Regions from separate parts of the Homo sapiens genome. Here regions 1, 2, 3, 4, 5 and 7 are each linked to region 6. Evidence: promoter capture Hi-C in 16 types of primary human blood cells and fetal thymus (Javierre and others, 2016). All regions are on one chromosome and are shown on one strand. The core of a region is centred on a gene start or on the middle of the fragment in contact, and the rest is flanking DNA. Distances in the headings are between cores, read along the strand shown.

What was found. The method cuts DNA at HindIII sites, captures the fragments that hold promoters and counts their contacts. A CHiCAGO score of 5 or more calls a contact.
Region 1: a contact is called between a fragment that was not itself captured here and the fragment with the promoter of LDLRAD4 in region 6, in 13 of 17 cell types (fetal thymus, non-activated CD4 T cells, M0 macrophages and 10 more). The highest score is 37.9, in fetal thymus.
Region 2: a fragment that was not itself captured here is called in contact with the fragment with the promoter of LDLRAD4 in region 6 in 16 of 17 cell types (naive CD4 T cells, non-activated CD4 T cells, activated CD4 T cells and 13 more); the score reaches 18.0 in naive CD4 T cells.
Region 3: a contact is called between a fragment that was not itself captured here and the fragment with the promoter of LDLRAD4 in region 6, in 1 of 17 cell types (fetal thymus). The highest score is 5.6, in fetal thymus.
Region 4: a contact is called between a fragment that was not itself captured here and the fragment with the promoter of LDLRAD4 in region 6, in 13 of 17 cell types (M0 macrophages, non-activated CD4 T cells, megakaryocytes and 10 more). The highest score is 16.0, in M0 macrophages.
Region 5: a fragment that was not itself captured here is called in contact with the fragment with the promoter of LDLRAD4 in region 6 in 14 of 17 cell types (activated CD4 T cells, M1 macrophages, fetal thymus and 11 more); the score reaches 15.8 in activated CD4 T cells.
Region 7: a contact is called between a fragment that was not itself captured here and the fragment with the promoter of LDLRAD4 in region 6, in 6 of 17 cell types (non-activated CD4 T cells, naive CD4 T cells, M2 macrophages and 3 more). The highest score is 8.2, in non-activated CD4 T cells.

Annotation. Positions count from the first base shown.
Region 1 is chr18:13,610,031-13,612,862 of GRCh38, forward strand. All of the region lies in intron 4 of LDLRAD4 (low density lipoprotein receptor class A domain containing 4), which reads left to right. It overlaps MIR4526 (microRNA 4526), which reads left to right and starts at 1,084; the gene lies at 1,084-1,170. RefSeq lists an enhancer at 2,594-2,823. The HindIII fragment of the contact is 1,087 bases long and covers 980-2,066 here.
Region 2 is chr18:13,662,290-13,665,262 of GRCh38, forward strand. FAM210A (family with sequence similarity 210 member A) reads right to left here. Exons shown (of 4, transcript NM_152352.4): 4 at 1,058-2,973. Among named protein-coding and RNA genes, the nearest start is that of MIR4526, 53 kb to the left of the region's middle. The HindIII fragment of the contact is 3,990 bases long and covers 1-2,973 here.
Region 3 is chr18:12,724,781-12,727,894 of GRCh38, forward strand. It overlaps PSMG2 (proteasome assembly chaperone 2), which reads left to right. Exons shown (of 7, transcript NM_020232.5): 7 at 659-960. The coding sequence ends at 751. Among named protein-coding and RNA genes, the nearest start is that of LINC01882, 23 kb to the right of the region's middle. The HindIII fragment of the contact is 7,922 bases long and covers 1-3,114 here.
Region 4 is chr18:13,490,111-13,492,851 of GRCh38, forward strand. The region is part of intron 4 of LDLRAD4 (low density lipoprotein receptor class A domain containing 4); the gene reads left to right. Among named protein-coding and RNA genes, the nearest start is that of LDLRAD4-AS3, 20 kb to the left of the region's middle. The HindIII fragment of the contact is 963 bases long and covers 774-1,736 here.
Region 5 is chr18:13,588,167-13,591,247 of GRCh38, forward strand. The region is part of intron 4 of LDLRAD4 (low density lipoprotein receptor class A domain containing 4); the gene reads left to right. Among named protein-coding and RNA genes, the nearest start is that of MIR4526, 21 kb to the right of the region's middle. The HindIII fragment of the contact is 2,619 bases long and covers 1-2,591 here.
Region 6 is chr18:13,217,510-13,220,603 of GRCh38, forward strand. LDLRAD4 (low density lipoprotein receptor class A domain containing 4) reads left to right here and starts at 1,251. Exons shown (of 7, transcript NM_001378100.1): 1 at 1,251-1,479. RefSeq lists a silencer at 42-411. The HindIII fragment of the contact is 2,786 bases long and covers 1-1,421 here.
Region 7 is chr18:13,699,933-13,702,666 of GRCh38, forward strand. All of the region lies in intron 1 of FAM210A (family with sequence similarity 210 member A), which reads right to left. Among named protein-coding and RNA genes, the nearest start is that of FAM210A, 25 kb to the right of the region's middle. The HindIII fragment of the contact is 9,088 bases long and covers 1-2,734 here.

The sequences.
Region 1 (2,832 bases), core at 273-2,772, 390 kb after region 6:
CAGTGACAGGGAAGCTAGCCAAACACAGTAAGTGTGTTGAGACACTGGGGAATAGCTGATGGCCGTTAAATGAAAGAAAAAAATGTTGATTTTCTTTTTTTATATATGAAATATTCATTTTACACCATGTTAAATCCCAGAGCGGGCTATTTATAACCATTTCAAAATGCAAATATGTTCATTAGCAAAGGAGAGAAGAACTTTTCCAGTTCCATGAAGTTCACCAAAGCCCTAATTTTTTTTTTTTTTTTTTTTTTTTTTTTTTTTTTTTTTTTGAGACGGAGTCTCACTCTGTCGCCCAGGCTGGAGTGAAGTGGCCCTATCTTGGCTCATGGCAACTTCTACCTCCCAGTTGCAAGCAATTCTCCTGCCTCAGCCTCCTGAGTAGCTGGGATCACAGGCGTGTGCCACCACACCTGGCTAATTTTTGTATTTTTAGTAGAGACGGGTTTCGCCATGTTGACCAGGCTGGTCTTGAACTCCTGACCTCAGGTGATCCGCCCACCTCGGCCTCCGAAAGTGCTAGGATTACAGGCTTGAGCCACCGTGCCTGCCCCACAAAGCCCTAATTTTAAGAAACAGACAGGTACAGTGGCCTACAGCGCTCCTCACTAAGGCCCTGGCTTGAGGGCAAGCCTATCATGTGACTGAGCCTGACCAGGAAGTGCTGGCCCAGGTGGCAAGGAGCCTCGGGGCTCCAGGGACAAGGGGCGCTGGTAGCCAGGGAGGGGCGGCTTGAAGTGGCTGCAGCTTCTAATTCTTTCTGAAGCTGCCTCTTTCTGAGGGTGACTCCCTCTTCATTCACCCAGCAGGGTGACTCTGAGAAGTCAGGGAAAGTCTGGCACAGGGAGGGGAGTTCCATTTTTAATTCGGAAATTGCTCAGGAAGAATCATACCATCCGGATTTCCCTCGCGGCTGTATATTAATAAATGGTCACTTTCCTTGCTGAAATTCTCTGGTTTCCTTTTATCCACGTGAAGCTTCTGGAAACTCTTCTGGGTGGTTCTTCTGTTGCTTTTCTGCCCCTGCCCCCAAAAATGAGAACATGAGAAAGTGATGTCTTCTAGCCACCTGGAGGACCCTGCGGTGACATCAGGGCCCAGTCCCTGCTGTCATGCCCCAGGTGACGTGCTGGGCTGACAGCAGGGCTGGCCGCTAACGTCACTGTCCTGGCTTCTAACGCTGGTAGTAACCAACAGAGTTTAGTTTTGCTTTGACAACTCCTCCTACAGCCAAAACTATTGTTATGGCCCACATGTCATTCCTATTTACCCTAAATAAGGAAAAACAAAGGCTATTCTGGGCTCCCGGCAGTGCTTGTGGTGGGGGTTATTTGCAGCGTTACCATGGCAGGCTGCCCTTTCCACCACGGCCACCCCGTGATTTTCTCTGAAAACTGCGACAGACTCGCAGCCTGCCCTGAATTTTCTTCACACAGCCTGGGGGCATCCGAATGCACGGGAGATGTTTTACACTCAGATGAAACAAACTGTTTAGACCTCGGGGAAAAGAGACTGTGCTTGAACAAAATGAACCAGGAGAAAGCGCCCTCCTGAGACATGTCTCTGCTTTCATGTTTGAATTGCCTGGGATTCTGTTCTCTAATTTCTGATCCTTATAAACTAAAACTGCCTAGGAACATTGAGCATCCTGACTTTGAAGGAGTCTCTGTGGTGTTTTTGTGCTACCATACATGGGGAATAATGATGTGAGGCAGAGGGAGAGGGAATGAATGGGAGAGCCAAGAGGGAAGAGCGAGCCGGGGGGAAAGGAGCGCGCAGTGTTTCCTGCTGCGGTTAGGACCTCACGCCTTGCCAGTACAGAGCTCGGTGGCAAGAGCCGCTGGGAGCTGCTCCCATCAGTTAGAGGATGTGGAGAGGGAGCACCAGAAGAGGACAGCCCGCAGCCTGGCTCGCAGCCTGAGGGACGCTGTGGGTGCTCCCAGCCGGGCGAGCACGCTCTGGGAGCGGATCTGCAGGGGAGAAGCACGCGAGCCTAACGTGAGCGTCCCGCCTGTCGCGTGTCCTGCCTTGGTAAGCGCCCTCTCCGGTCCTTCCACACTGAAAGCTTCCAGCAGAGATCAAGGGAAGGAGTATTGTGTGAGACTTGCAGATTTCCTCCTTTCTGTCTGGACTGGTTTGATATTTGCCTGTTGAAAAGATTACTGAACGCAGTGTGACAAGATGAGCCGTCTAGCTGCGTTCTGCTTGCCTGTGTGTGTGACACGTCCAGGTGTGAGGCCAAACCTGAGAAGTGCAGACTGCTCACTGATAGACGTTGCTGTAAACAGTAGTGCCCTGGGTGTACAGCTGGTCTCAGGATCGGAGACCCCGGACTTATTCTCTGCTCGGTGACACGGCCGGCTTCCTGCCGCAGAGCTCCTGGTTTCTGTTGATGGCAGTTGATAATTGGTAGCCACAGTCTGCGGTCGGAGCCACAGCATTTGAGTCTAGCACCTGGGGTGGGCCCTGCTGATACAGTAGAGAGAGAGTGAACGAGGCAGACAGAAACACACCCCCCCCCCCTCCACGCTCACACACTCTCCCACACCCCATGCCAGCTATAACTGCAGCTCTGAGCTGCCTGGAGAGGAGATTGCCGGAAGCTGAAGGGATGCTTTGAACGTGGGGGGGCTGCGTCACAGTTGGACTCCCACTTGCAGAGGACCTGATTATGTCCAGTGACCACCTGAACAACAGCACACTGAAGGAGGCTCAGTTCAAAGACCTGTTCTTAAAAAAAGGTACATTTCCCAAGAACTGCTATGGATGATGCATGCTCTTTCGGGTTTGCTGTGGTTCTTCTTGGAGTTTGGTCTGAGGACAGAGCTG
Region 2 (2,973 bases), core at 307-2,806, 450 kb after region 6:
AAGAGGCTCCCACTTCTCTGAGTGCACATGTGCCACTCAGGCATCTGGGCCAGTATGATCAGACACACTGAGACACCTCCATGCTCATAAGGACAATTGAGTAGTGAGCTTTCAGTACCAAAAAATGTAAGTGGCTTGCAAAAAAGATATTTAAACAGGTACAAACAACTTTGGTGACATTTAATCTATTTTATTTTAGGCCTTATAGAAACTCAATTTTGAAAATAAAAAATAAATGAAGGCCCCCATTTCAAAAAATGAACTTTGGCCAACAGAAAAAATATGTCCACATTACCTAACAAGTTATATTTTCAGAAGGAATCCTTTAATTCAGAAATGTGTATCTCACAAAAACATCTTCTCAACATATCATTTCAGAAAAAGCAGGAAAGATGACTTTTTTTGCCTCATTGGCTAAAAATCATCTTCTGTCCATTCCATTGTAATTACTATCTTCTACAGCAGCCTGATTCATGTCTGAATTGGTTAAGAAATCCTGAATGACCCAAACCCAACACTAAGAACACAGAAAGAAGCTCAGTGTGTCAAATATACAATTTCCTTCTTTTCTTCAAACATCTTTCTGCGCATACTATTAAGATCTTTAAGGCCAGGCGCGGTGGCTCATGCCTGTAATCCCAGCACTTTGGGAGGCCGAGGCGGGCGGATCACGAGGTCAGGAGATCGAGACCATCCTGGCTAACACGGTGAAACCGTCTCTACTAAAAACACAAAAAATTAGCCGGGCATGGTCGCGGGTGCCTGTAGTCCCAGCTACTCGGGAGGCTGAGGCAGGAGAATGGCGTGAACCTGGGAGGTGGAGCTTGCAGTGAGCCGAGATCGTTATCACTGCACTCCAGCCTGGGCGACAGAGCGAGACTCTGTCTCAAAAAAAAAAAAAAAAAAAAAAAAAAAAATATATATATATATATATATCTTTAAAATTCCTGGAATTATCATCTAAGATCACTGAAACAAGAGAGCCAGTATCTCCATTTCATCCTGAGCATAAAGCATTTGTAAGTAAGTGTAGATTCTGTGACAAATAAACACACGATTATATTTCAAGGGATAAATTTATTATTTTCACTACTGGGAGGTAGGTAATCTCAGTATAAGCATTCTTTTTCTCCTTTCTTGAAATCTGTAAACAGCACCCTGCTGTATGTACAAAAGGCTGTCTCAGTGAAATACATTTTTTGATGTGGTTGGTTTTGCTCTTATTCCTGAATAAACTAAGTCTCTCACCTAATCCATCTTTCATTTCAAATATCAATTTGCTTAGCAAACCCTTTTTGTGCATTTTACACAGGCGAATCTCAGTCCTAGCTCCCTCCCCACCCGGTCAACACACCTCGCATAAATGCAGACATGCCTTTAGCCAGGCATGGTGGTGTGCACCTGTAGTCCCAGCTACTCAGCAGGCTGAGGTGGGAGGATCACTTGAGCCAGGAGTTCAAGACGCAAGTGAGCTATGATCATGCCACTGCACTCTAGCCTGGGTGACAGAGTGAGACTCTGTCTCAAAAAAATAAATATAAATATAAATATAAATGTAGACATGTAAGACACAGGGCTGCTTCTGCCGAGCACTCGCAGTTCACAGAGGTTATAGGTGAATTAATCCCAAGTGTGAGGTGTACTGTAAATGAAATGAGGTCTATTATACATAGCAAACTATACTGTATATATTCTCAATTATTTAACTTGGCATATTGGTACTGTATTCTGTTAGCCTGCTATTAATACTCCAAACTCAACATATTACAGGAATCCCTGAAACTTAAGGACTAGGTTAGCAATATGCTAGCAACAACATTTTTGTAACATTCCTGGTGCCAAGTAATACAACAGAGCTTCTCACATCTTCAGAGCATTTTTTACTAGAGAATTTCATATCATTCAAGCAGTAACTCATTGTCTATTAGACTAACACAACATGATCATGAAACTGGATGGCAACAAAACTCAAATGGACTAACAAAAGATGTCTATGCAGGAAAAGCAAATTTTAGTTTCAGGATTATTAGTAATAAGAACCTCCAATTTATCCCCACTGGAAAATATGCAACATGAAAAGTAAAAGGAAATTGTTTTAGAAAAATTCCATATAACACAAGATTTTCACATAGTCTCCAGTGGTTAAAAAGAAAAAAGAAACAAGGAACATGTTTAATATCTTAAAAAACAGCACTTAAACCTGCAAAAATGTGAATTATTTGATAAATACTTAAAAAACATGTTAATCATGTTTAGATTTGAAAATGTGGCATCAATGTGAAGCAGTGCATTCAACCCTCTGTATCAGGAGACAGCGGTGCTGCCTGCCCAAGACTGCAGAGAGCAGAGACACAGCTGCATCTCTCAGCACTCTCCCCGGCCCCCAAGAAGAGATTCCAATCACAGCATATTCATTTAAAAAGCATTCTAATATAGTAATTAGACTCATCAAATACAAACTTTTTTTCCCCTTTAAACTATACTCTAAATTTGGCCAAACTAAGTACTTGATATAAAAATCCTGGCAAAGAGCAGGGGTCCCTGCGGGACTGTGTGGCAAACCCAGACATTCTCTCGCCTTAGCAGATAAGTCAAAACAAGGACAATCTAAGAGGCCATTCCCTCATCCAATTAGCAATTGAAGGGTTAGAACTGAAATAGTCACTGTTAGAGCACAGGAAATAGACACTTACATACTCAAACACACCCCACCAGCCCCGCAACGCTCACAGCTGACAACGGCTGAATTTCATTACAAGCAAATGATTTAATGATAGCTTTGTTAAGATGGTGAAACCCCATCTCTACTAAAAATACAAAAAAATTAGCTGGGCGTGGTGGTGGGCGCCTGTAGTCCCAGCTACTCGGGAGGCTGAGGTCAGGAGTTGGAGACTAGCCTGGCTAACATGGTGAAACTCCACCTCCACTAAAAATACAAAAATTAGCTGAGTGTGGTGGCACACGCTTATACTC
Region 3 (3,114 bases), core at 498-2,997, 490 kb before region 6:
ACAGTTAACCAACCTATTATTTACAGTTTTTTCATTAAAGCTGACTTTCCAAAAAGGAAAATCCTTAGTTCTTCATTGTACTTACTATTCATGTTAGATTAATTATGCCAGACATAGTCTTGCAATAATAAACAAGCCTTCTGTGGAATTCAGGAATTTTTTTAGGGAAGTAAAAAGTATTGCTATGTGAGCAATACTGTAGCTATTGAATATGTATTACAGTTGATATTTTTCTCTATTATGAAATGAGAGCATTACACCCAGGGAAGTGAGTTAGCCTTTAGGCATAACAGAACACTGAGCATAAGGCTGCTTTCTAAGATGGGTAACTAGCTTTTTAATTCATGCTTTTGCCAAGAACAAATTGATACAAATCACATAATGCTGATTTTTTTTTTAATCCCTATTCTTTTTGAATGTGATTTTCCCTAATAAACTTCATCTACAGCCTTTCTGGCATATCTTTATAATTTGGAACTTAAAGAAATTTATCTTCAGTTGACATGAAGACAAAGAAACTTTATTTTTCCTTAACAATAAAACCTGGCTATAAAAGTGCCAACCAAAAGGAACACAAAAGGAGAGTTTTATAATTCACTTTAAAAGGAGATTTGATGGTAAAGTTTAAAGATTAAAATATTTTGTTCTTCAATTACAGAGCGATGACCCCACAGTATCTGCCTCACGGTGGAAAATACCAAGTTCTTGGAGATTACTCTTTGGCAGTGGTCTTCCCCCTGCACTTTTCTGATCTAATTTCTGTTTTATACCTTATACCCAAAACACTTACTACCAACACAGCTGTTAAACATTCTATACAAAAAAATTGTATGATCTGGTATTAGGAAATTACTTTCACAGTAAATATCAAAGAAAAAAGATTAAGGGTCTCTTTGCCATGCTTTTCATCATATGCACCAAATGTAAATTTTGTACAATAAAATTTTATTTCCTAAGTAATTTTGTCTTAAATGTATTTTTTTTAATTTCAGACTCTCTATTAGCTTCCTAGTTTGTCTCTAATAAATCACCACAAACTTAGTGACTTAAAACACACCAGTTTAATTTTTTCATTAACTAATTAATTAATTTTCATTCTGTATTTTAAGTAAAATGAGACGAGGTCTTGCCATGTTGCCCAGGCTGGTCTCAAACTCCTGGGCTCAGGCAATCCTCCTGCCATGTCCTCCCAAAGTGCTGAGATTACAGGCATTACACCACTATGCCCAGCCACAAATTTGCTTTTAAATTCTGACTTCTGAGTTCTAGGAGTCAGAAATCCAACAGTGGGTCTGACGAGACTAAAATCAGGGTGATCGCAGGGCACTGCTCCTGAGGAAGGCCTTAGGGAGAATTTGTGTTCTGCTGTTTCCAGCTTCTAGAGGCTGCCATATTATTTGGCTCATGGGCCCTTCTATCTTCAAAGCCAGCAGCTTAGCATCTTCAAATCTCTCAGTTATAAAAGGACCCTGTGATTGCATTGGGCCCACCCCAATAATCCAGGATAGTTTCCCCATTTTAGAATAATTTTACTATAAAAGAAATAATAAAAATAGTTATCATTTTCGAGTGCCTGCTGCATACTAGTCACTGTTCACCCCTAGTCTTTGGGATGTACGATTTCACTGTGTTACCTCTGTGCCTTGGCTCTCTCATCTGTAACACAAGGGCTTGTAATATTTAAGGATACAACTACTTCCCAGCACTCCGGAAAGGTTTCCTTTTGATATGTAAATCATGCTGGATTCTGTGGCCTATTTCTGTTTCCCTTTTGGTTAAAATATGAAATGGGGGTTGACATCAGCAAGATGGCAAAATAGGAAGTACCAGTCCTCATTACCCCACAGAGACACCAGTTTAATTTATAGACCAGGATACCAGAAACCAGTTAAGTTGCAGTATCCCCAGGTGAGTGCAAAATTAAGAACAGCCACGTTGAAATGAGTAAGAAGAGTCATTTCACTTTACTCCACCCAGGATGACAGCCCAGCATGATGGCGAGTACGCCAGCTCCTGGCTTTTCCCTGGGTTGAAGGGGGCAGACTCGGTGAGGGGGAGAGAGGTAGAGAACGTTGGAGCATGTGACCAAGATTCTGACTCTTTCGTCTTGTCTGACTTGGAATACTGACAGAACTGGCATCCTTTGGATGTCTGGAGTCTGCTAAAAGCACGGGAGAGTTGGAGGATCGTTTGCCGTGCCACCAGAGCCTGTAGTACCACAGACAGGCCAGTGTGGCTGGACACCACCAAGAGAAATCACCCAACTTGCATTTTCTCTCCCAGGAGGAATGGAACTTACACGCCAGCATTGCAGCTTTTTGTAGTGCTGCCCAAGGGACTGTTGCCCATCTCATCTAACTTGGGGTGCTTATAGGAAGCTGTCATGCTTTGCCAGAGAGCCACTGAGAACAAAGGGGCGACTTGCAGCTGCAGCACTAGGGAACGTGCAATTCTGAAGACAGACACCAGAGGGAGCAAGAGATTACAAGATGAAAAACCAGCAACCTTCAGTTGGGAAATAACACAATCCTAAAAAGTTGAACTTGGAAAAACATTTAAGAGGTTTCAGAATCTCTACCTGGGCTAGCTGGTGAAGGTCTGCCCTGTACAAAGCCAGTATGCAAAGATTGGGAGTGGCCGAGTGTAGTGCCTTACACCTATAACCCCAGCACTTTGGGAGGCTGAGGTGGGAGGATCACCTGAGGTCAGGAGTTCGCGACCAGCCTGACCAATATGGTGAAACCCCATCTCTACTAAAAATACAAAAAAACAAATTAGCCAGACATGGTGGCACACACTTGTAATCCCAGCTATGCGGGAGGCTGAGGCAGGAGAATTGCTCAAACCCAGAAGGCGGCGGTTGCAGTGAGCCAAGATCATGCCACTGCACTCCAACCTGGGCAACAGAGCGAGACTCTGTCCCAAAAAGAAAAAGAAAATATGAGGCTCACTGGCAAACTAAATATAGACAAATGCAGAATCCTTCAGGACTATAATGGTAGTGCACTTTTAATTCTGGTCCAGAATTGACAAGACAAAGCATAAAAATAACTGTAACTGGCCAGGCACGGTGACCCACACATGTCATCCCAGCACTTGGGGAAGATTTCTTGA
Region 4 (2,741 bases), core at 5-2,504, 270 kb after region 6:
CCATCTGCCCTGCTGCCGTGAAAGCTCTCGGACCCAAATGGCTTCCTGTGATCCACTGTGGTCTGCTTATTATATTCCCTTCAGCTATGTTTATAACTCTGTCAACAGCCACAGCGTGAGTACCCCAATCGGATAACAATAACCTAAAATTTTAAATGCTCAAAAGTCAGAAACATTTTAAGTGACAATATGATGCTCAAAGGAAATGTCCATTGGAGCATTTTAGATTCAGATTTTTGGATTAGGAAGGTGGATGTATAATAGAATAACTGGTAAGTATAATGCAAGTTTTCAAGATCCAAAAAAGTTCAAAATTCGAAACACTTCTGACTCCAGGCATTTTGGATAAGGGATACCCAACCTATATTATGAAGTGGTAGCAAGAAAATTACATTGAAATGGAACATTTTTTCAGTTTATGTATCCTTTTGTGAGGTTTTTATTTCAAAATATCACAGTCCAAGCCAAAAAATATACGTGGGTGTTTCAGTTTATGAAAACTGTAAGTTATGTTTACTTTTCTATATGTATATATTTTTTTACCTCAATAAAATGATAGCCCCAAACTCTCTTCAACCTTACCTCATCTGTGGTTTATAGACGTTTCCAGGGGAAGTTTTTTAAAATGATGTGTTCCAGAAAGGAGTAAATGGAATATTAAAAGCATGCAGCATGGCCCATTCTGGAGGAGGGCCAGGCTTGTCAGGGAGATGGCAGGATGTGCATTTTTGCACATCCTTGGCTCATTGGCATGGCAGGGAGAGTCCAGCTAAAGCTTCTGCACCCCCTGTCCCCTTTAGATCTGGGCCTCTGTCTCTGGACGATATTCTGTATCTCCAGCCTGAACCTCTCAGATGTTGGAAATTAACCTCAGAGTGAATCACTGGGCTGCCATAGGGATTTAGTTGGACACAGTGGGTGGCCAAGTCGTCTCTGCTCCTCTTCATGGTAGTGGGGGCTGCTCTCTACCATCTAGACCCACCCTCATGGGAAAGGCCGCAGACCCTTACTCAGCCTGTGGGACACCAGGCAGAGTCCCTTGCAGCTGATGGTGAGCTGAGGTGCACTGTATTTCTGCCACAGGGATTTGTTAATGATTTACTTTAAATGTCCACCTGCAGGGTAGCTGGGACGATGAAAGCATCCCAAGACCTCCCTTTTCCATCTGTGGCTGATCACCTCTGGAACCCACAGCTAGCCGGCTGCTCCTCCACTATCAGATGGCGGCTGTCAGTCATGGGCTTGTCACCGAGTGCATCCGTCATGCTCGGGCCATGGGCCGGCACCTGTGTGTGTGTGTCCAGCTTAACGACAGAGATTTTTGGAAAGACGCCCTAAGATAGACATACTTGAAACTGAGTGAGAATAAGTTTGACTTATTTCTTTTTGAGATACTTTATATGTTTGAAATAATTAATAGCTGGCGCCAGTGAATCTAGTTTCTGTCTGTTTCCTTTAAAGATTATATGTAGTGTTGGTGATTGGGATTTAGTAAGCTATATTGAAGATGCTAACGTTTGATTTTATAGCAAAAAAAGAAGCATTTGTGTGGAGCAAGGACGTTTGTATATGAGCAGTCATAAAGTTAATGTCAAGTGGCCCGGCAGGGACTTTTACACCCATTTTACAAAGAACAAGACCCAGAACTAGAGGCCAGGAAAACAGATCTTCTGTTTCTCACCCTGGTACTTTTCCCATCAGGTGACAGTGTTTGGGTCTGCACCACGTCAGGCCAAAGCTTTGCACGTTGGTGCTGTCTGATAATGAAATTTGCAGAACACCACCGGGAGGCTTGCATGAATTGGTGCGAGGAAAAGTAGAGGCGCTTCCATCATTCAATTGATGGATGACTATGAGGCTGACTTTATTGTTCCTAGCACTGAAATCCTGTTTTTCTTGGGTATAATGAATACAGTAGCATGGTTTATGCTACCTTCATAGAGTTTTTGCCCCCCACTGAAAATGCAACTTGTCATTCTCTAAGATCCATGCCACCAAGACCCAAGACACCAAGACAAGACCGATTCGGGCAAGTCTAGCTAGAAACAGGCCACGCTCTTGTCCCCAGAATGGCCAGGACACCATCAGGCCTGAGGGGCACAGAGGAAGGATGCGAGTGGCCTGCCACAGGACTCATCCACCCCAGTGCACGGAAAGGTGAATCCTGGATTTCTCCCCTATTCCCGGGCTGTTGATGGGATCTCATCTTTGTAAAGTTTCTTCTGGTTCCGAGTTGCCTCTGCCGGAAGGGACGTCCTTTCACAGCCCAGCATTGCTGTAATCCGGTGGAGTGGCTGCAGTATTAACAGATGGAGTTGGTCCTCCCTTCCCCCCCGGGTCTGAATCTGCCTGCTCCTGTGCGTTCACTCTTCCTGCAGTCCAGCTGGGGAGTAGCAGCTCCTTGGCAAACACCTTCTTCTCCAGCCCCGTAGAACGCCTGGCCTCATCAAAAAGGCCACAGGATGGCCAATGGGCATTGTCAGACCCTACTCAGGAGTGGGATCTCCACTGACTGGGGCGGCCCTCCAGCAGGTGTCCCAGGGCCTTAGATCCCTCCAGAGAAATGGTAGCTGCTCAGAAGATGGAGCTCTCCTGGAAACTCCTGAGTCACCTGGGCAGTGGGGTGCCCTGGGAGCACCAGGTCATGCCATACCCCCCTTCCTCATTTTCTCCATCCCCACAGCTCCACTCTTCCTGCCTTTCCCTTGAAAATGAGTGTGGCAAATAGAGGAGAACGGGCT
Region 5 (3,081 bases), core at 32-2,531, 370 kb after region 6:
GAATTATTTTGGCTTGAAGCTGAAAGCTGGTGACATGTATGCTCTAAGTGGTCTCACTGTGCGTGGGTAAGGGGCCTGTGGCTTCTCTAGCACCTGCTTGGGAGGGGCTTTCTTCTCCTTCTCCTTTTCAATAATTTCATCTTGAACCTCTCTATTCTGAATGGACCAGTGGGAGTGATACTTTTTTACACAGAGATTTATACATAACATAACAAATTTGAAGGCTGGGAAATGAATCTATTGATTTCTTCATTTTCTGAAAATGTTTGGAATTTTATCTTTTTTCAGTGAAATATTACAAATAAATTTACAGATGGGGCTTCATTAAGGAATGTATTTTAAAATATGTGATCAAAACGATTCATTATTTTTTAAATTTCAGTTTCCTCCCTTGCCCTTAGCATGTTATTTTTTTTAGGGTCTCTGGTTGTTACCTCACCAAGCGAAGGGACAGCAAGTTCCTTTTCTCCCTCTGCTACTCGCCGGGTGTTTTTGTACGCAGCTTCCATTTCTGAAAACACTTTTTGGCCTCTGTGTTCTTAGGATTGAATTGTTCTTGTGCTGTCGACACAATCCACTCATGTCACCGCTAGTTTCTTGAAACTATCTTGACCTTGTTTCAGAGAAAGTGGCTTCCCTAATCCTACAGTCCAGCAAAATTTACATTTCATGATGCACCCGTTCAGCTGTGTGCTCACTCAGAAAGCTCTGCGGAATCATCTAGCACTCTGCCATCTTTTTCCTTTTCTTTTTTTTTTCTTTTTTTCTTTTTTTTTTTTTGAGACAGAGTCTCGCTCTGTCGCCCAGGCTGGAGTGCAGTGGCGCTATCTTGGTTCATTGTAACCTCCGCCTCCCAGGCTCAAATGATTCTCCTGCCTCAGCCTCCCGAGTAGCTGGGACTGCAGGGTTGCACCACCATGCCCAGCTATTTTTATTTGTTTATTTTCAGTAGGGATGAGGTTTTGCTGTGTTGGCCAGGCTGGTCTCGAACTCCTGGCCTCAAGTGATCCACCCATCTCAGCCTCCTGAAGTGCTGGAATTACAGAAATGAGCCAGCATGCCCAGCTTGCCATCTTTTTTCTTCTGTGGTTGGTTTCTGTCCCCAAACTGTGATGGGAGAAGGCAGGTGAAATGATGGTTGGATGCCACTGCAAGCTGCCTTTTCTGTGTGGGCTCTTGGTCTGTGTACATGGGGCCCCATGGCACACTGAGTTTTACCTAGGAAGGCTTCAGCTGTTCATTTTCGTTTGCAAATCCTCCGTGGAGACCCAGGGAGAGACTGCAGGAGTTGCTTCTTATTTCTTGACCAGGGTTTCCGCTCCCATCACCGTGGCTTTTTGGGGAGCCTTGCTGGTGTGTTCCTGGGATGGCTGTGGCCTGCCACTGTGTCCTCTTACACAGGAGTCAGCCCTGGATGAGACCTGCAGCCCTGTGGCCTTGGACTCCCACCTTTCCCCCAGGCTGGGTCCCTCAGGCATGGCCCTTTCCCCCAGTGTCCCCTTAGGCATGGCCCAGTTTGCTTGGTAGGGCCTGACACTCTTCAGATGGTGAAGTCAGAAAGAAAGGAAAGTCTAAAGGAGAGAAGCAGCTCAGAGAAGGGAGAAGAGGGTTTGGGAGGAAAGGGAAAGAGGTGTTGAGAGGTTATGACGCCCAGGAGAGGTGAATGCAGGGAGGGAATGGAGGGGCCCAAGGAGTGACAGGCAGACGGGGTCTCTGATCCGGGGGTGCTGGGCCTGCCCTGCAATCTGAGTCACAAAAGCCAGTGGGGAAAGACAAGGCAGGCATTGGGTGTGCGAGTGGGTGTGCATGTGTGTGGCTGCGTGTGTGGGGGTGTGCACGTGTGTGGCTGTGCATGTGTATGGGTGTGCATGTGTGTGAGTGTGCATGTGTGTGACTGCATGTGTGTGGGTGTGCATGTGTGGGTGTGAGTGTGCATGTGTGTGACTGCATGTGCGTGGGTGTGCATGTGTGGGTGTGCGTGGGTGTGGGTACGCATGTGCGTATATGGAGTACGGGGGAAGGAGATGTGGGTAAGGGTTTGTGTATGGGAGGGTGTGTGGGTATAAGTGTGTGCATGTGAGGGGGATAGGTGTGTATATATGTGTGTGCATATGGAGTGTGGGGGAGATAGGGGTGTATGTGCGTGTGTTGGTATGTGTATGTGGGGGGTAAGTGTGTGTGTGTGCGTGTGCGTGTATGTGCACGTGTTGTGTGTGTGCGCCTGCACACGGAGAGCCCACTCATACGTAGCAGAAAATCAAATGGCCCCAAATCAGAAACATGGCGCATGTGAGCATGCCACTTCTTGTGTGCCTGTGACTGTTCAGAATGTACACGGCCCTGCAGCTCCCGAAGGCCAGCTCTGCTGCAACCCCTCCTCTGTCCAACACAGTCCTCACTGGTGTCTTTTCCTCTTCAAATCTACAGCATTTCTGATCTCTGCAAACAATTTAACCCAAAACCAAGTTCTGGCTGACAAGGCTACATCTTGTTTCTTGTGCGTGATTAGCCTCGAGACCCAAGGAGCTCCCTGCCCTTGACTGATTCATTCTGTACCTGCTGGACCTGGAAATGCATTAAAAGCTCAGGAAAGCTTACTGATCAATTGCACTGGAGATTGAGTCTGGTTTGGGGCTTTACATTTGTAAAGCATCTTATGTGCAAAAGTAATTTGAAAGACCAATTTATTATTTCTAATTCAGAGGTCTCATTATCATCAGATGGAATGGAGGAAGCAGTGGCATGAGTTGGTGCCCTTGAGGCTGGTGCTTGTGTTCTCCCTGGAGTTCCTGCTACTCTTTGTCTTCAGATTTTTCTTGAAGTATGAATTAAAAGGAGCAGGAGATCTTAACCCAGTATCATGTGTGGGTTTTAGTGGCTTTTGATCAGGGAGTTTTGAGGCTGTTTTATTGTCCTTGAACAATTACAGTCTCTGAAAGCAGAAAGACAGAGCCCAAATCTTGTGCTCAGTTTGCTTGCTGTAGAATTCTGTGTCTTCTCTCTCTTAAAATAAAGCCATATAAATAAAAACTCTTGGGGATTCCTTAAGAATGTCAAAAGTAATGATTGGTCTAAATTGAA
Region 6 (3,094 bases), core at 1-2,500:
CCACGGCGGCCCCGGTACCCGCGGCCTGGCCGCGCGCCGGGTCCCCACCGCGGAGTGGGAAGGAGGAGGAGAGACTGGAGGAGTTGGAGACAGACACAGCCGCGGCGCGCAGTCACGGCTGGAGACAGACGGCGGCGACGGCGGCGGGAGGCGGGACACTCCCCCCTCCGGCGACTGGAGGCGGGACACCTCCCCGGCGGCCGCAGCGCCGCGTCCCCTCTCTCCCCGCGCTGAGGCTGCGGACCGGGCCCGGCGGGATTAGCAGGCGAGTGCGTTGGCCCTGCCCGCTCCGCGCGCCGCCGCGGCCGGCCGGGGATCCCCTGCAAGCCACTGAGCCGCTGCCGCCGCTGCAGCCAGACAGGCTGCGGGTGCCTGGGAAAGTGGAAGCAGGGCGGGGAGCGCGGGGGAGGCCCGGGGGTGAGGTCCTCAGCTCTTAAAGAACCCCGGCGCGCCGCGCTCCCCGCCGGCCCGCCGCGCGCCCCCTGCCGCGCCCCGCACAGCGCCCCTCCCCCTGGCCAGCAGGGCCGGTGGCCGCGGAGCCGCACTGCGGGCAGTCCCCGCCTCCGCTCCGGGGGGGCGGCCCAGGTGAGTGCGGACCCGAGGTGGCCGCAGTGGTCGGGGCTTCTGGCCCAAGTTCACCGCTGCGCTCCGGAGGGAGGGGTGGCGGGGGACTCGGGAACCGGACGCTTTGGGAACTGGACGTCCGCGAGCCTGCGCCGTCGGCTGGGGCCGGAGGGAGAAGCTGGGCGCCGAGCGCGCGAGGTCTGTGAGGCTTGGTCCGGGTGGGCTTGCCGGTGGGCACGGCGGGGATCCGGGGCTGGCCCGCGGGCGGGGTTACGCCGGTGGAGGGACTTCGCCGACCCCCACCCCGTTTTCTGTTTCCTGGTGCCCTGGGGCGCAGGGTGTCCCGCGGTTGCAAGACTGAATTCTGCACCGCCCGGAGGCCAGGATGGGCGCGCGGATGGCAGCCCCAACTGTCTCCGCGCCCCTAGGCCTCGGCGAGCCGTGGCGGGCAGGGACTGGAGGTCAGCGGGAAGCGGGAAGATCCTGCAGGACCTGACCGGGGAGTTTGCGGGAAGGAGGGGGCGGGCCAAGCCCCGCAGCCCCTCAGTCCCGCATCCTGCACCGCGCGCTCCCCGGCCCCGGCCCCTCGGGCCCGCTTCACCCGGCGTCCCCCCGGGTCCCCCCGCGCGCGTTGACGTCGGTCGCGGGACCGCCCGGAGCTCCCGGCATTGGCTGGGAAGTCGATTGTCTGGGGCTGCTGCTGTTGCACTTAGGCTGGGTCTCCGAGCCCCGGAGGAAGCAGGCGTGTGTTGAATTTCTCTCTGCCCCTCACCTTGGAATAAACAGGAAGCGACAAGCACCCAGCCCGGCCCGGCACTTGCCTTTGTGAAGGGGTCTGCCCTGCACAGCCTTTAGGAAGCTTCCTCGGGACCCCTTCCCGGTGCGCCGCCCCGGGTGGGCCTGGGGGCGCGCCCTGTGAGTACACCGGTGGAAGACAGTGGGTTCGGTTTAGGTTAAATCGCTATCGTGGCGGAGAGGGCATTTGCTTGTTTAAACTTTTTTTTTTTTTTTTTTAATTGGAAAAGGAGAAGGTTTCCCGATGAGGCAGAGGTTTTCAGGACGACAGGGACGCATGGTGGGTGGGCGGCACTGGGGGAAGGCGCATCCGAGAGTACAGCGTTCTTGGGTCACCTACCTGGAGGGACACCTCGTCGCCAGTCAGGGCAGCTAGAAGCTCTTTAAAGCAAGCAGGACTCCTTAGCTCTGCCCAGGCACAGGAATGGTTGCTGTGTGCCCATAGCCGCATGAACTAGCATGATTTTTGTTTTTCCCCCAAAATTTTTTAATTAGCTAGAATTAGATAATTTTGATTTGCTTCTTTTCTTTTCCTCTGTGTCTTGGTCTATTCCCTTCTCTTTTTCTCTTTTCTAATTATTTTGGCATCTTCTCATCCCCGGACCAGCGCTGCTTTCTAAATGTTAATTACCATTGCAATACATATTTATTGAGGGCCTACTATGTGTTAGGCATTGTAGGATGTGAGGTAAGAGTAGCTGCACAGAATGTGGGTTCTGAGCGCTAGTATTAGTAAGTTATTTGCAGTAGAGGTGGATAGAGATGGTGAGCAGCATTGACTCTCAAAAATAGGGTCCTATGGCTGGTAAGGAGGTTGGTGCCTTCTCGAAGGGCTAGTGCTGGGAAGCTTCCTTTTAAAAACGGCCCTTTCTGCCGGTTTGGCTAGCCAAGAATGGCATCCTCCTCTCTGTATCTTCCCTGGAGCTTCAGGACTGAGTATTGAATGACAGAGAAGGTTCTGCAAAGTCTGCACAGGGAGACTGCCATTGCATCAAGTCATGTCTGCATTCTGTATATGGTATTGTCTTTTCTAGTCTTTAACTCGAGTGTGTTGTCATCTGTAACTCTCCCTTTGTACTCTGCACAATTCTTCTGGAATATAGTCTTTGTGTTCAGTCAAGGATCAGAGTGTCAAATCTGAGTCATTACATAGACAAATGAGGATGTCTGAGTATTACCCATGTATATTTATTGAATTATATTTGGTTTCCCATCAACCCTTGAAATGTTATTTGATGGACCTTTCTAAGCAGTGCTTTTTAAAACAGGGGGCTAACTTCCTTATGATCTTTGAAAGCTTAATTCTTTTTAAGAGCTTCATTTTGCTATTGACATTGAACACAGTGTTAGGAATTAGGGCTGGGAATGTAAATGCCAGTAAGGGATTTGCTGTAATGGAATTGTAGCTACCTTCCTCCCTTGTTTTAAATGACCTCTCTAATTTCTTAACATTCTGCTGTTACCCTTGGAAGGGCTTGCCATTGTTGGCCATGGTCCTGGTTCGTGTAGGTTTGTATTTACATTGGAGAAGACTCTTCCCGGCAGGTTTTTAGGGCTGTCTCTTGAATCCTCTCATGGGCTTGGTTTGCAAGACCACAATCCTGCAGTGGAACGCAGCCAGTGCCAGCTGCTTATTAAGGGATTTTGTGCCAATTTGTTGGCACATTATTTGAGACTCCTGCACCCCACCCTACTCCCACTGGAGTATATACATACATAGACAAATATTTATTTT
Region 7 (2,734 bases), core at 110-2,609, 480 kb after region 6:
GGTAAAAAAACTCTTTTTCTCTCTCTACTCTCACACTCAATGTAGAATACTTCTACAACTAAATGTGAAGGAGTTTTCTCCACACATCAAGCAATACTCTAGAGGACACCAACTGGGTACCCTATAATTCAATTTAATTCTAACACTGTCTTATTTGAGTTAAGAGTCAGAATCCACAGATCAAGGGCTCAGTCCCACAAGACTACTCCTACTCCCCACTTCAGATGCAAATCACAAGTAGTAAGTTGTTACCCATACTTCTCAACAGGCTATACATTCAAGTTCCCACCTTGGGTTCAATTAATTTGATAACCCTTCCATTGGAGAAACTAATAAGATTTACAAGCCAGATTTTAGGCAGAATTATAGTTAGGACCTGACCAGGATGCATGCACTGGTGCACTCTGGCCCACTTCCCTATAGCTGCTGAGAGTCACATAGCATGCTGAACCACCTACTCCCTGCTGTTCCTATAGACAGAATCTCTGACACCGGACCTTTTAACCTAAGAATTGGTTAAGGTGTTTTCCAGATCCTGAATTCCAGCAAAACAGCTGACACCAAACTGTCTGAAGACCCCCACCAAGGAACTAACTCAGCAAAGGAATGTAGTTTCTTCATCTCCCTGTCACCAGACTTTACCTCTCACTTCTCGATTAATCAGCAATCCCCACACTTTAGCCCATCACTTGTCCAGAATCCTTAAAATCTTCATCTCCAAACCTCTCGGGAAGGCAGATTTGAAGTTCTTAAAGCAAACTAAATATGGCCTAAGAAGGACTCCATACTTCTATATTTGAGTCCTTGTGAACTGTAACCTAGCTTAAGAGGCAGACAAGACTGAAAACCAAACTTAGGAGTATGCACCTGTACAATAGCTGAGTCTTGACCAATTCCAGTGGCCAGCCATACTTCAACCACTCATAGACTGCTAAGTGTTCGAATAAGGCAAATGCCAACCTATAGCCAATCCAGCTGTTTCTATACGTTGCTTCTGATTTCCGTATATCATTTCCCTTTTTTTGTCTATAAATCTCCCACCACGTGGCTACATGGGAGTCTCTCTGAATCTGCTTTGAGCCTGGGGGCTGCCTGATTTGCAAATCATTCATTGCTCAATTAAACTCCTTTAAATGTAATCCAGCCTAAGTTTTTAACAGATGGTGTCAGAAGTGGGATCTGAAATAGAGCTTCTAATGATCTCCAGGAGCTCCGAATGAACAAGCAAGGTACCTGCTGGACCCACTTGTGTCCTTTGATCCCTCAGAGCAGCTGGGGATCATGGTAAGTTCTCTCAGATTTCGGAGCTCTACAGATTTGTGTTTTGAGCTCTTGAGTTTCTCTGAGCAAATTTCTGGTCCAAACTGGGTTTGGAAATCGCAACAGAAATCGAACTGGGTTCAGGATCAGATTAGATCTGGTAATTAACTGGTTTGGATCCAGTTAGAGGCCTCTTACATCTGACTGGGTCAGAAAGAAACTGATAGTAAATGGTAATATTGCAGGGGTTGTAAAATTTGGCTTTTAAAAATTTGCAAGGATTTTTGTGTTCTACCCCTTTGTTTCATTTTTCTTGTGTGTTTAAGTAGGGGCAAAAAAAAATCATTGGCTAAGTTAATCAAGGGAACCTGAGACTATAGCCAACATTTTAGGCAAAATAGGATCCTCAATTTCTGGAAATCTAAGTTCCTTCCAGCTTATACATTAGGCAGAGAAAGCAGCAAAGTCTTACAGAATGGCAAAATCTTACTAAAGCTAACTTACAGTAGAATGTTCTGAATAAACCACAATGCACTGAAGTGCATTTAAAAATGAGGTCTCTCAGAAATTAAATCTACTAACCTTTTAGCTTAGTTATTATCCAGATCCAAAGGAAATAGACTGCAGTACCAATTGGCTGACTTTGGATAAGTTATGGGGTACATTTTACTTGAGTAAAGGATGGAACTGGGTTAGAGGCCCTCCTGTCAGTAAAGTCTCTCTTGGATAAAAAATGGGTTAAAGATGACAGGGCCCAATCAGGGGCAAATTTGAACCTTGCCAGTTCGATAATTTGGCGCCCCCATGCAGCTGGTTGGGCAGCAACTTGCAAAATTAAGAGACTTTTACCCGTGGTTCCACAAAACAGAAAAAGATGATTTTGCTTTGTGTGGCGGCTTGGCCCCCAAGGCTGTGGTGCAGCCAGCCAGGTCACAGGGCCACTCAGAGGAAGGGAACTCAGAAGCCTGGCATGCCAGCAAAAGGGTAAGGCTTTCTTACCAGTCAGACTTCTACCTCTCTCTCCCTGTGCAAACTGGTTGAATGAATGGTAAAAATCACTATCTCTTGTAAAGTTTTGAGTAATGGGAAAAAGGATTTATGAGGCTAGTCTTAAGCTGCAGCCAATTTGGTATGCTTGCTATGTCTTCCTGTATCCTTCTGTCATAAAGACAGCTAACTTAGAACAGAACACGGGCTTGAAACCCCATAAGCCCGCTGCTCAAGACGGCCCAGCAAGCTGGTCAGTAACGAACTTTGCTGCAGGTCCCTCACACAAACAAAAAAACTGTACGAGGTCTCCATCGTGTTTTATTTCCTTCGGAGCTTGATCCTGTGACCACATGGCTACACTTACTCTTGGTCTCTGCCTTCCAGGGAACAGGAATTTTAAGGTTCATGTCACGGGTAGCTCTAAAAATCATCCTGAGTAGTTAAAAGCCTTTGCAAGCTCAAAATTAACTACTCTAGACTCCTT